Linked DNA regions of Homo sapiens: all the other regions are linked to region 1. The links are contacts of gene promoters, found by promoter capture Hi-C in blood cells and fetal thymus (Javierre and others, 2016). All regions are on one chromosome and are shown on one strand. The core of a region is centred on a gene start or on the middle of the fragment in contact, and the rest is flanking DNA. Distances in the headings are between cores, read along the strand shown.

What was found. The method cuts DNA at HindIII sites, captures the fragments that hold promoters and counts their contacts. A CHiCAGO score of 5 or more calls a contact.
Region 2: a fragment that was not itself captured here is called in contact with the fragment with the promoter of RFPL2 in region 1 in 4 of 17 cell types (M1 macrophages, M0 macrophages, monocytes and 1 more); the score reaches 8.6 in M1 macrophages.
Region 3: a fragment that was not itself captured here is called in contact with the fragment with the promoter of RFPL2 in region 1 in 5 of 17 cell types (total CD4 T cells, naive CD4 T cells, M2 macrophages and 2 more); the score reaches 6.6 in total CD4 T cells.

The regions. Positions count from the first base shown.
Region 1 is chr22:32,202,910-32,206,343 of GRCh38, forward strand. RFPL2 (ret finger protein like 2) reads right to left here and starts at 2,164. Exons shown (of 5, transcript NM_001394555.1): 1 at 1,798-2,164. SLC5A4-AS1 (SLC5A4 antisense RNA 1) reads left to right here and starts at 2,206. Exons shown (of 4, transcript NR_149072.1): 1 at 2,206-2,338. The HindIII fragment of the contact is 11,730 bases long and covers 1-3,434 here.
Region 2 is chr22:32,267,299-32,271,011 of GRCh38, forward strand. SLC5A4-AS1 (SLC5A4 antisense RNA 1) reads left to right here. Exons shown (of 4, transcript NR_149072.1): 3 at 990-1,281; 4 at 2,059-3,713. It also overlaps a transcript of SLC5A4 not described here and the pseudogene CPSF1P1. Among named protein-coding and RNA genes, the nearest start is that of SLC5A4, 14 kb to the left of the region's middle. The HindIII fragment of the contact is 707 bases long and covers 2,000-2,706 here.
Region 3 is chr22:32,104,510-32,107,969 of GRCh38, forward strand. SLC5A1 (solute carrier family 5 member 1) reads left to right here. Exons shown (of 15, transcript NM_000343.4): 14 at 277-382. LOC105373000 (a long non-coding RNA gene) reads right to left here. Exons shown (of 3, transcript XR_938172.3): 3 at 2,348-2,433. Among named protein-coding and RNA genes, the nearest start is that of C22orf42, 53 kb to the right of the region's middle. The HindIII fragment of the contact is 4,236 bases long and covers 1-3,368 here.

The DNA.
Region 1 (3,434 bases), core at 914-3,413:
TCCCAGGCGGTCTCTGCAACACAGAGCAATAGGAGGCGGGTCCAGGAAGCACCACGGGGCTGGGGCCCCTGCCGCGCTCAGGAAATGCTGTGCGCCCGCCGCACTTGAGCAAGAACAGGAGGAGGTGGCCGGGAAGAGGAGGACCGCTCCTCTCTTGCAGACCACCGCTGTCACTGACACCTCCACCGCCCGCCACCGGCAGTGCAGTCCCAGATGGCGCCCCTAACTCATCCGTGCCTAGTACATGCAGCACCCAATGGCGCTGGCAGCCTGCCCCCTGCCACGGGCAGCGCAGCCCGGGATAACTCCCCAAACCCGCTCTGTGCTGTGGGCAGTGCAGCCACGGATACCACCCTCAACCAGCCCCTCGCCACAGGAAATGACTCCCGGGATAGCGCCCCAAATCAGCCCCCAGCCTCGGGCAGTGACGCCTGGAGTAGGTCACCCAACCCAACTCCTGCGCGGGCAGTGCAGCACCAGATAGCGCCCCTAAAACGCCTCCCGCCACCGGCGGTGTAGCCCAGGATAGCGCCGCCAACCCGGTACTCGCCGCGGCAGTGTAGCGATAGGGCACCCAATCTGCCACCCACCGCCGGCAGTGCAACCCCAGATAGCGCACCGAACTCACTCCCTGCTGGGCAGTGCAACCCCACATAGCATCCAACCCGCCTCCCCACCCAGCCACTGGCAGTCCGCCCCCGATAATGTCCCATACACGCTCCTGGCTGTGGGCAGTGCAGCCCATGGGTAGCGCCCCCAACCAGCCCCCAGCCATGGGGAGTGATGCCTCGGATAACACACCCAACAAGTTCCCCACCATGGCACTGATGTCCCAGGTAGCGCCCCCAATCCTTGCCCCTCAGCGACCAGTGCAGCCATGGATAGCGCCCTCAACAAGCCCCTCCACTGACCCCCGCCGCTGTGGGAAATGACGCCCGGGATAACGCACCCAACCCTCCCCCGCCATGAGCAATGCAACACGCACTACTGCTCCTTACACGCCCCCCACTACATGCGGTGTAGCCAACGATGGCGCCCCCATCTCCCCCTCGCCTCGGGCAGTGTAGCTCCCGATAGTGCATCCAACCCATTCCCTCTGCCCCTCTCCTCCCACCGAGTCAACCACCGCCGGCAGTCCAACCCCAAATAGCGCACCCAATCCACTCCCTGCCAGGCAGTGAAGCCCCCCGATAGCACCCAACCCGCACCCCCACCCCCGCCACTGGCAGTCCGCCCCGATAACGCCCCAACACGCTCCTGGCTGTAGGCAGTGTAGCCCATAGATAGAGCCCCCAACCAGCCCCCAGCCAAGGGCAGTGACGCCTCGGATATCACAGCCAACAAGTTCCCTGCCATGCGCACTGATGTCCCAGATAGCGCCCCCAACCCGTACCCCAGCGCGACCAGTGCAGCCACGGATAGCGCCCCCAGCAAGCCACCCCGCGGCTGCGGGAAATGACGTCCGGTAAAGCACCCAACCTTCCCGTGCTGTAGGCAGTGCAGCACCCAATACTGCCCCTAACACGCCTCCCACCACCGGGTTGTAGCCCACGATGGCGCCCTCAATCCGCCCCCGCTCCCACCTCGGGCAGTGCAGCTCCAGATCGTGCATCCAACCTGTCCCCCTCCCCGCCCCCTGCCGCAGGCAGTGAGCCCTGGATAGCTCATCCACCCCGCCACCTTTCTACATTCTGGCTGCGGTCTAGTCTCCCTCACCGCCACCAACGGCAGCGAGCCGAGCCATGCTGCTGCAGGCTTTCAAGCCTCCAGCGTGGGACAGGTGACTCCTCCTCTAACCTGGGCATGGAGCAGATGGGCTGGCAGACGCAGAAGTGCCTGGAATGGCAAGAACCCCTCCCCCCACAGACCGAGGTTATGCAAGTAAGGTTTCTGGACTACATGTTCAGATTGGATGAGAGAAAAACCTCTAGGTCTACTCTGATTGTGCTTTATTTTCACGTTCTGACTGGATGACAGCAAGTCTTAGGATAACCAATCAGAACAAGATAACAAAGCCCGATCAGAGTAGGCCTAGAGGTTTCTCTCATCCGATCAGACTATGTAGTCGAGAAACTTCATTTGCATTAAACTCAGTATATAAAGGATGCCAAGAGGGGTGGCTTGCCCTTCCAGGCTCATCTGCGTCGGCCTGCGTAGCTGCTCTGTGCCCGGCTTAGAGGAGAAGGAGGAGGAGCCACTTGCCGCGCATGCCAGAGGCTAGAGTCATCTACCGCGCATGCTGGAGGCTGGAGCCTACAGTGGCTCACCTCGCTGCTGCGGTTGGTGGCCGCGAGGGTGACTACAGCGCAGCCAGAATGGTGAAAAGGTGGCAGAATAGGTTCGTTATCCCAGGCCGTACTGCCTGTGGCGTGGGGGGCGGGTTGGGGGCCCTATCCAGGGCGTCACTGCCCGTGTTGGGGGGCTGCTTGAGTGTGGTACCTCGGGCGTCACTGCCCGCTGAGGGGAGTGGGGTGGGGGCGCTATCCGGGGGCGCTATCCAGCCTATGGCTGGAGATGGGTTGGGGCGCTATCCGAAGCTGTAATTCCTGCGGCAGTGGGGAGTTTTGGGGGCACTATCTGGGGATGCACTGCCCGCGGCCGGGGGGCGGGGGTGAGTTAGTAGAACTATCAGGTGCTGCAATGCCCTGATGCCCTTGTTGGGGACAGGTTGTGGGGGGCTGGTGGGTGCAACACTGCTGGTGGCGAGGGTGGGTGCTGCTATCCGGTGCTACTCTGCCTGTGGGGGACGGGGGCGGGCGTGATATCCAGGGCATCATTGCCTGCATCTGGGAGCTGGTTGGGGACACTATCCATGGCTGCACTGCCCACAGTGGGGAGCGGGTTGGGGGCACTATTTGGGGCTGCAATGCTGGTGGTGGGGGACGGGTTAGGGTCACTATAGGGTGCTACACTGCTGGCAGTGGGGAGGGGGTTGTTGAGGGCGCTCTCTGGGGGCTACACTGAGACAGGTAGCGGGGGGTTGTTGGGATTGGTACCGGGGCTGGACTGCCCATGGAGAGGGGGTGGGGGCGTTGGTTGGGGGCGCTATTGAGGGCCGGGTACACTGCCTGCGGTGGAGGGGTGGGTTGGGTGCTATCAGGGGTCTGTACTGCCTAGCAGGGAGCGGGTGGGTGTGCTATCTGGGGCTGCACTGGCTGCAGCAGGGGCAGGTTGGGTGCACTATAGGGGGCTACACTGCCCTTGGCAGGGGGTGGTTTAGGTGAGCTGTCTGTGGCCGCACTGCCCGAGGTGGGGAGTAAGTTTGGGTGCTATCTGTGGCTGCACTGCCTGGAGGCAGGAAGTGGGTTGAGGGTGCTATCCTGGGCTGCTTCTCCTGGTGGGGAGCAGGTAGGGGCACTATCCAGGGTTGCACTGCCCGGGGTAGGGGGCGATTTGGGTGCCATATCGGGGCATCACTGCCCACGGCAGGGGTC
Region 2 (3,713 bases), core at 1,103-3,602, 65 kb after region 1:
TAAGGTGGGAGGAGGGACACTCTACACAAAAACCCTTGTAAGTGGAGCTCACTCCAACTGAGTTGTCAGTGGAAGCAATTGGAGGCCAGGGGAGAACCTAGTGGAGCAGAGGTGAGAATAAATTAAGAAAAAAATTAAAATTTTAATACAGAAAATGTTATCATTTCAGCATGAAATTAACTTTAAGATTGTTTTTAAGAAACAGGGTCTCCCTCCATCACCCAGGCTGGAGTGCAGTGGCACGATCATAGCTCACTGTAGCTTCAACTTCTTGGGCTCAGGCGATCCTCCCGACTCAGCCTCCCAGGGTGCTAGGACTACAGGCACATGCCACTGCACCCAGCCAACCTTTAAAAGTTCTTAACAACATCATTTACATTCTCTATTTCTCATTACATTTTCCAAATCCATTATGCATTTTACACTGAAAGCACATCTCAATTCTGATATGCCCCATTTCAGGTGCTCAAGAGCCACATGTGGCAGGACAGCCCAGTATAGACACTTTTATGACATCAACTTCCCAAAGAAACAATCAAGTCCTGGCTGGACGTGGTGGCTCACGCCTGTAATCCCAGCACTTTGGGAGGCTGAGGCAGGAGGATCACGAGGTCAGGAGATTGAGACCATCCTGGCTAACACAGTGAAACTCCATCTCTACTAAAAATACAAAAAATTAGCCAGGCGTGGTGGTGGGCGCCTGTAGTCCCAGGTACTTGGGAAGCTGAGGCAGGAGAATGGCGTAAACCCAGGAGGTGGAGCTTGCAGTGAGCCGAGATGGCGCCACTGCACTCCAGCTAGCATTTAAAATATCAGAAGCTCAAGGCCCTGAGTCTTTTATATATGTATTTATATTGTGTTTCATTATGTTTCACTAGTAATTGTGCATAGTAGGCCCTGATATCTCTATGTATATAAGGAGGAAAGATTTCCAAGGAGTGTTGTCCTTCAACTCATGACACTCTAATAGCATGTACATTTTTCCATAGAGAGTGGTCACGGCTGAACAATTTCAAGAAGCGAGTCGATGTCTCATCTCCCTATCTTATCTTGAAAAACCCGTGTACCTAAGTCGTGGATGTGTCTGCTGCATCCGCTGCATCAGTTCACTTCTGAAGGAACCCCATGAGGAAGGTGTAATGTGCTCCTTTCGCTCTGTGGCTACTCAGAAGAATGACATCAGGCCCGATTTCCAGCTGGGAAAGATGGATTCTAAAATCAAGGAACTGGAGCCCCAGCTGACAATTCTATATCAGAACCCAAAGACGCTGAAGTTCCAAGGTAAGAAATCTGTAAAATTTGCTCTCAGCCCATCAATGGCCCTGAGAAAGTAGCCATTCAAAATGTTCTCCATTAAATATGGGCATAGGCTGAATTCTGGCACCTGAAATATTTATGCCCCCAAACCATAGTTGAATATAGACTAGAGATGACTAGAGATTTTGAAGGTAATGTAATAGTTAGGTCGTGCTCTAGGCCTGTGCTGTCTAATGTGGTAGTCGCCATTGGCTGCAGAGCCCTTAAATGTGGTTAGTGTCCTCTGTGAAAATGATAATAATTTGGGATATACAGGCTTATAATATACTATTTAAAGTATTTTTTGCATTTTTTCTCTTGAGACAGAGTTTCGCTCTTTCGCCCAGGCTGAGTGCAGTGGTGTGATCTCGGCTTACTGCACGCTCTGCCTTCTGGGTTCAAGCGATTCTGCCTCAGCCTCCTGAGTAGCTGGGACTGCAGGAGCATGCCACCACACCGGGCTAATTTTTATATTTTTAGTAAACACAGGGTTTTGCCATGTTGGCCATGGCGGTCTCGAACTCCTCACCTTGTGATCTGCCCACCCTGGCCTCCCAAAGTGCTGGGATTACAGGCGTGAGCCACCACGAGCGGCTGCATGTTTTTTATTACTTTTTTAGCATGTCTACAGGAAAATTTAAAATTATACATGTGGCTGTCATATTTCTTTGGGTGTAGCACTGACCTAAAACATAACTTCTCAAGCTTGTTTATATTAAATCACCTGGAGATCTTTTAAAAATCCGTATTTTGATTCCATAGGAGTGGGCTGGCCTGTCCTGTAGAAGCTACCTCATCGATGTGCAGGCCCTGGATGAGAAGCTGCTCATCATCATCGCCCTGCAGTTCCTGCACGGCTACTACAAGCCCATCCTGTTCGAGCCCAACCAGACCTGGCCCGGGCACGTGGCTGTGTGGCAGGACACGTGCTCCATCGTGGCCATCTTGCTAACATCACGCAGAAGGTGCACCCCGTCATCTGATCTCTCACCAGCTACCCTTTGACTGCACCCAGGCTCTGGCCGTACCCAAGCCCATAGGTGGGGTGGTGGTCTTTGTCGTCAGCTCGCTGTTATACCTGAACCAGAGCATTCCCCCGTACGGTGTGGCTCTCAGCAGCCTCACCACAGGCACCGCAGCTTTCCCGCTGTGCACCCAGCTGGGTGTGTGAATCCCCCTGGACTGCGCCCAGGCCACCTTCATCTCCCATGACAAGATGGTCATCTCCCTCAAGGGCAGTCAGATCTACATGCTGACCCTCATCACCGATGGCATGCGTAGCGTCCGAGTGTTCCACTTTTGACAAGGCGGCCACCAGCGTCCTCACCACCAGCATGGTCACCATGGAGCCTGGGTACCTGTTCCTGAGTTCTTGCCTGGGCAACTCTCTCCTCCTCAAGTACACCGAGAAGCTTCAGGAGCCCCCGGCCAGTGCTATCTGTGAGGCTGCTGACAAGGAAGAGCCTCCCTCACAGAAGAAGCGAGTGGACACATGGCCAGCTGGTCAGCCAGGGACAAATCCGTGTCACAGGACGACATGGACGAGATTGAAGTGTACGGCAGCGACGCCCAGTCGGGCACACAGCTGGCCACCTACCTTTGAGGTGTGTGACAGCATCCTTAACATTGGACCCTGCACCAATGCTGCCATGGGTGAGCCTGCCTTCCTGTCTGAAGAGTTTCAGAACAACCCTGAGCCGGACCTGGAGATTGTGGTTTGCTCCAGCCACAGGAAGAATGGGGCTCTGTCGGTGCTGCAGAAGAGCATCCAGCCCCAGGTGGTGACAACCTTTGAGCTTCCCGGCTGCTACGACATGTGGACAGTCATCGCCCTGGTGCCTAAGGAGGAGAAAGAGAATCCCAAGGGGGAGGGCACGGAGCAGGAACCCAGCACCCCCGAAGCGGACAATGACCACCGCAGACAGTGATTCCTGATTCTGAGCCAGGAAGACTCAACCATATTCCCGCAGATGGGGCAGGAGATCATGGAGCTGGACACCAGTGGCTTTGCCACGCAGGGCCCCACGGTCTTTGCCGAAAACATCGGGGACAACCACTACATTGTCCAAGTGTCGCTGCTGGGCATCCACCTGCTGGAAGGAATGAATCAGTTGTACTTCATCCCTGTGGGCCTGGTCACCCGCAACATGCAGTGCACTGTAGGCAACCCCTGCGTGGTCATCATGAGTGCCGACGGCCGCGTCACCATGTTCCTGCTGAAAAGCACACTCCTATAGTGGCTGCCACGACCACCTGGTGCTGCACAAGCCCCCGCTGCACCATCAGCCCAACGTGATCACGCTGTGCCTGTACCGAGACCTCAGTGGCATGTTCACCACTGAGAGCTGCCTGAGCGGGGCTCACGATGAGCTAGGGGGCCACAGTGGCTTGGAGGCCGAGAGCCTGGGCTCGGAGAC
Region 3 (3,460 bases), core at 1-2,500, 99 kb before region 1:
AGAGTTCATTCAACAAACATTTCCATATGAGGCAATCTTTTAGCTCTGAATATGCATATATCATAGAGGCTAGTATATACATGTATATTACTTTTATCTAAGTTACCAATGTTTTTAGAGATAATGTTATGGATGAGAATCGTTGTGTATGTTCTTCCTGGTACTGAGATGCCACATTCCCTTCCCTTCCTTGATGCATATCTCTTTGCCCCCCCAACTTCTTGTCCCAAGATGCTATTTGGATCTTTCTGTTGACCTGTTCTGCCTTCTCTGCAGCTCTACCGTCTGTGTTGGAGCCTGCGCAACAGCAAAGAGGAGCGTATTGACCTGGATGCGGAAGAGGAGAACATCCAAGAAGGCCCTAAGGAGACCATTGAAATAGGTGACTTATGACCCAGAGCAGATCCTAAACCATAAAAGTTACTCCTACAACAACAAGACTTTACTGAAGTTCTTCCCTAAATAATTTTATCAGAGCTCAGATGTCTCCCCTCCAGGGCAGTGAGGAGTAGGGTGGGGATGAGATGGATAAGTGGGTTTGGGGAAGTTAACTCTGAGTTCAAGGGAAAGAAAGGGTACAGAATCATTCAAGCTCCCTCACCCCTCATATTTAAAAAATTTTTGTGAGTACGTAGTAGGTGTATACATTTATGAGGTACGTGAGATGTTCTGATGCAGGCATGCAATCATGCCTGCAAGCAAGCACATCATGGAGAATGGGGTGTCCACCCCCTCAAGCATTTATCCTTTGAGTTGCAAACAATCCAGTTGCACTCTTAATTTTTTTTTTTTTTTTTTTTTGAGACCGAGTTTCACTCTTGTTGCCTAGGCTGGAGTGCAATGGCGCAATCTCGGCTCACTGCAACCTCCACCTCCTGGGTTCAAGCGATTCTCCTGCCTCAGCCTCCTGAGTAGCTGGGAATACAGGCATGCACCACCACGCCCGGCTAATTTTGTATGTTTTTAGTAGAGATGGGGTTTCTCCATGTTGGTTAGCCTGGTCTCAAACTCCTGACCTTAGGTGATCTGCCCGCCTTGGCCTCCCAAAGTATTGGGATTACAGGCATAAGCCACCACACCCGGCCTTGCACTCTTAATTTTAAAATGTACAATTAAGTTTTCATTGACTATAGCCACCCTGTTGTGCTATCAAATAGTAGGTTAGTCATTCTTTCTATTTTTTTGTTGTACCCATTAACCATCCCTACCCCATCCCCAGACCCCCACTACCCTTCCCAGCCTCTGGTAACCATCTTTCTACTTTCTATGTCCATGAGTTCAATTGTTTTGATTTTTAGATCTCACAAATAAGTGAGAACATGAGATGTTTGTCTTACTGTGACTGGCCTATTTCACTTAACATAATGATCTCCAGTTCCATCCATGTTGTTGCAAATGACAGGGTCTCATTCTTTCTTTATGGCTGAATAGTACTCCATTGTGTATATGTACCCATTTTCTTTATCCATTCATCTGTTGATGGACACTTAGGTTGCTTCCAAATCTTAGCCATTGTAAACAGTGCAGCAACAAACATAGGAGTGCAGATATCTCTTCAATATACTAATTTCCTTTCTTTTGGGCATATACCCAGCAGTGGGATTACTGAATTATATGGTAGCTGTCTTTTTAGTTTTTTGAGGAACCTCCAAACTGTTCTCCATACTGGTCATACTAACTTTCATTCCCACCAACAGTGTACATCCTCACCAGCATTTGTTATTGCCTGTCTTTTGGATATAAGCCGTTTTAACTGTGATGAGATGATATATCATTGTAGTTTTGATTTGCATTTCTATGATTGATGATGTTGAGCACATTTTTATGTGCCTATTAGCCATTTATATATCATATTTTGAGAAACGTCTATTAAAATCTTTAGACCATTTTTGATTGGATTCTTACCCCTCATATTTGACAGCACTCAGTGAGTAAGTGTGGGTGAGGAATTTGCCACCCTGCCTTGATTTGAGGAATGGCCAGGGATAAGAGAAGAGTTGGAGCTCTTCTGACATAGCCTGTGAACTGAGGGCAGATGGAACCAAAGCTATGGCCAGTTCTAGTGACATCAAGATGAGGGGATAGAAGCCCTTGGGATCTTATGTCATACTGGCTTACAATATCAAATGCAGAAAATCAAATTTCTCTCGAAGACCAATGAAATAACGCTTAGTCAGTGCCCAGAGACTTATCCTGTAAGTTAATACTTTCTTCTACTTCAGTATTGCAACTTTTCCTCTCTATGTGGGAAACGTGCACACGTGGAGGATGGTTGTGGAGGTGTGTGGTGTGCAGAGCTATGGGGGCTCAAGGTCATATGTGCTTTACCTGGTGCTGGGCTGGAGGCCTCATATCACTCCATCTGAAGGAGAGCACAGGTGTAGCTCAGAACAGATTCTCAATCTGGCCATCAGGAACATCATAGAATCCTACCTGGGGAAAGAGCCCTAGAGATCATTTGGTCTTATCATCTCATTTTATAGACATGTAAATTGAGGCTTAGGGAGGGAGAGGCTGTGCCTAAGGTCTCAGCTTTGTTACAATCTGCTCTTGATCTTCGAGTACCTTTCAATTCTAAAACTTGTGACTGCAAATACTGGAGAGAGCCTGGAGCCACAGCAGCTGGCCATGGTGCTGAAAACAGCCCCTTCCTGCCTCCCTGGGGCAGGCAGGCAGGAACATGCCCTCTACTTCTCCTACCTCCAAAAATGTCTCCACACTGTGTAAGAATATCATAGATTTTAAAGGGACATGGATTAGGAGTATTTTGAGTGTCAAAAGATCTTATTGTGGAAGAAGAGATTATTTTTATGCCAGAAGGCAGACTTAACACTGGTGGGTGAAAAGAATTCATCCGATTTTAACTCAGAGTAAGGAGGCAAGATAGTGCAGAGATAGACTGTGAGATTTGGAATCAGGAAGAACTGGGATTTAATCATCATCAATTCTCTTCCTAATACTCTGGGAAAGTGATTCCATTGTTCTAAAGCTCAGATTCATCACATAAAAGTATTCTAAATGAAAACCCATGCCTCTTATGCTCTGCTGTAAGAATTGTCTATATTTACCACCATCATGATTGCTTTGAAGGAAGAGTTTCTAATTGAGTTGGTCTGGACAGGGATGAGCAGTATGTGTACATCTGTCAAGGATTCTGTAGAGGGAACTTCCGTACTGGCTAGAGATTTGACTTGGTGACCTCTGAGGTTCATGGCAGCACTCAAATTCTGTTGTGTCTTCATGAACTTAGGGTGAAATCAGACTGAACATCCTACCCTATTAAAGCACAATAAACTAAGCTATCTTTAGGGATTTTACAGACCATGAATGTCACATTCACCATTCTCTGAGAAACAGCAACACAAGGAAGCTTTGCAGGTGCATCACTGTCCCAGTATCATCATCCTCACCACCACCACCACCACCACCATCATCGATAATGATATGATCATAACATGTT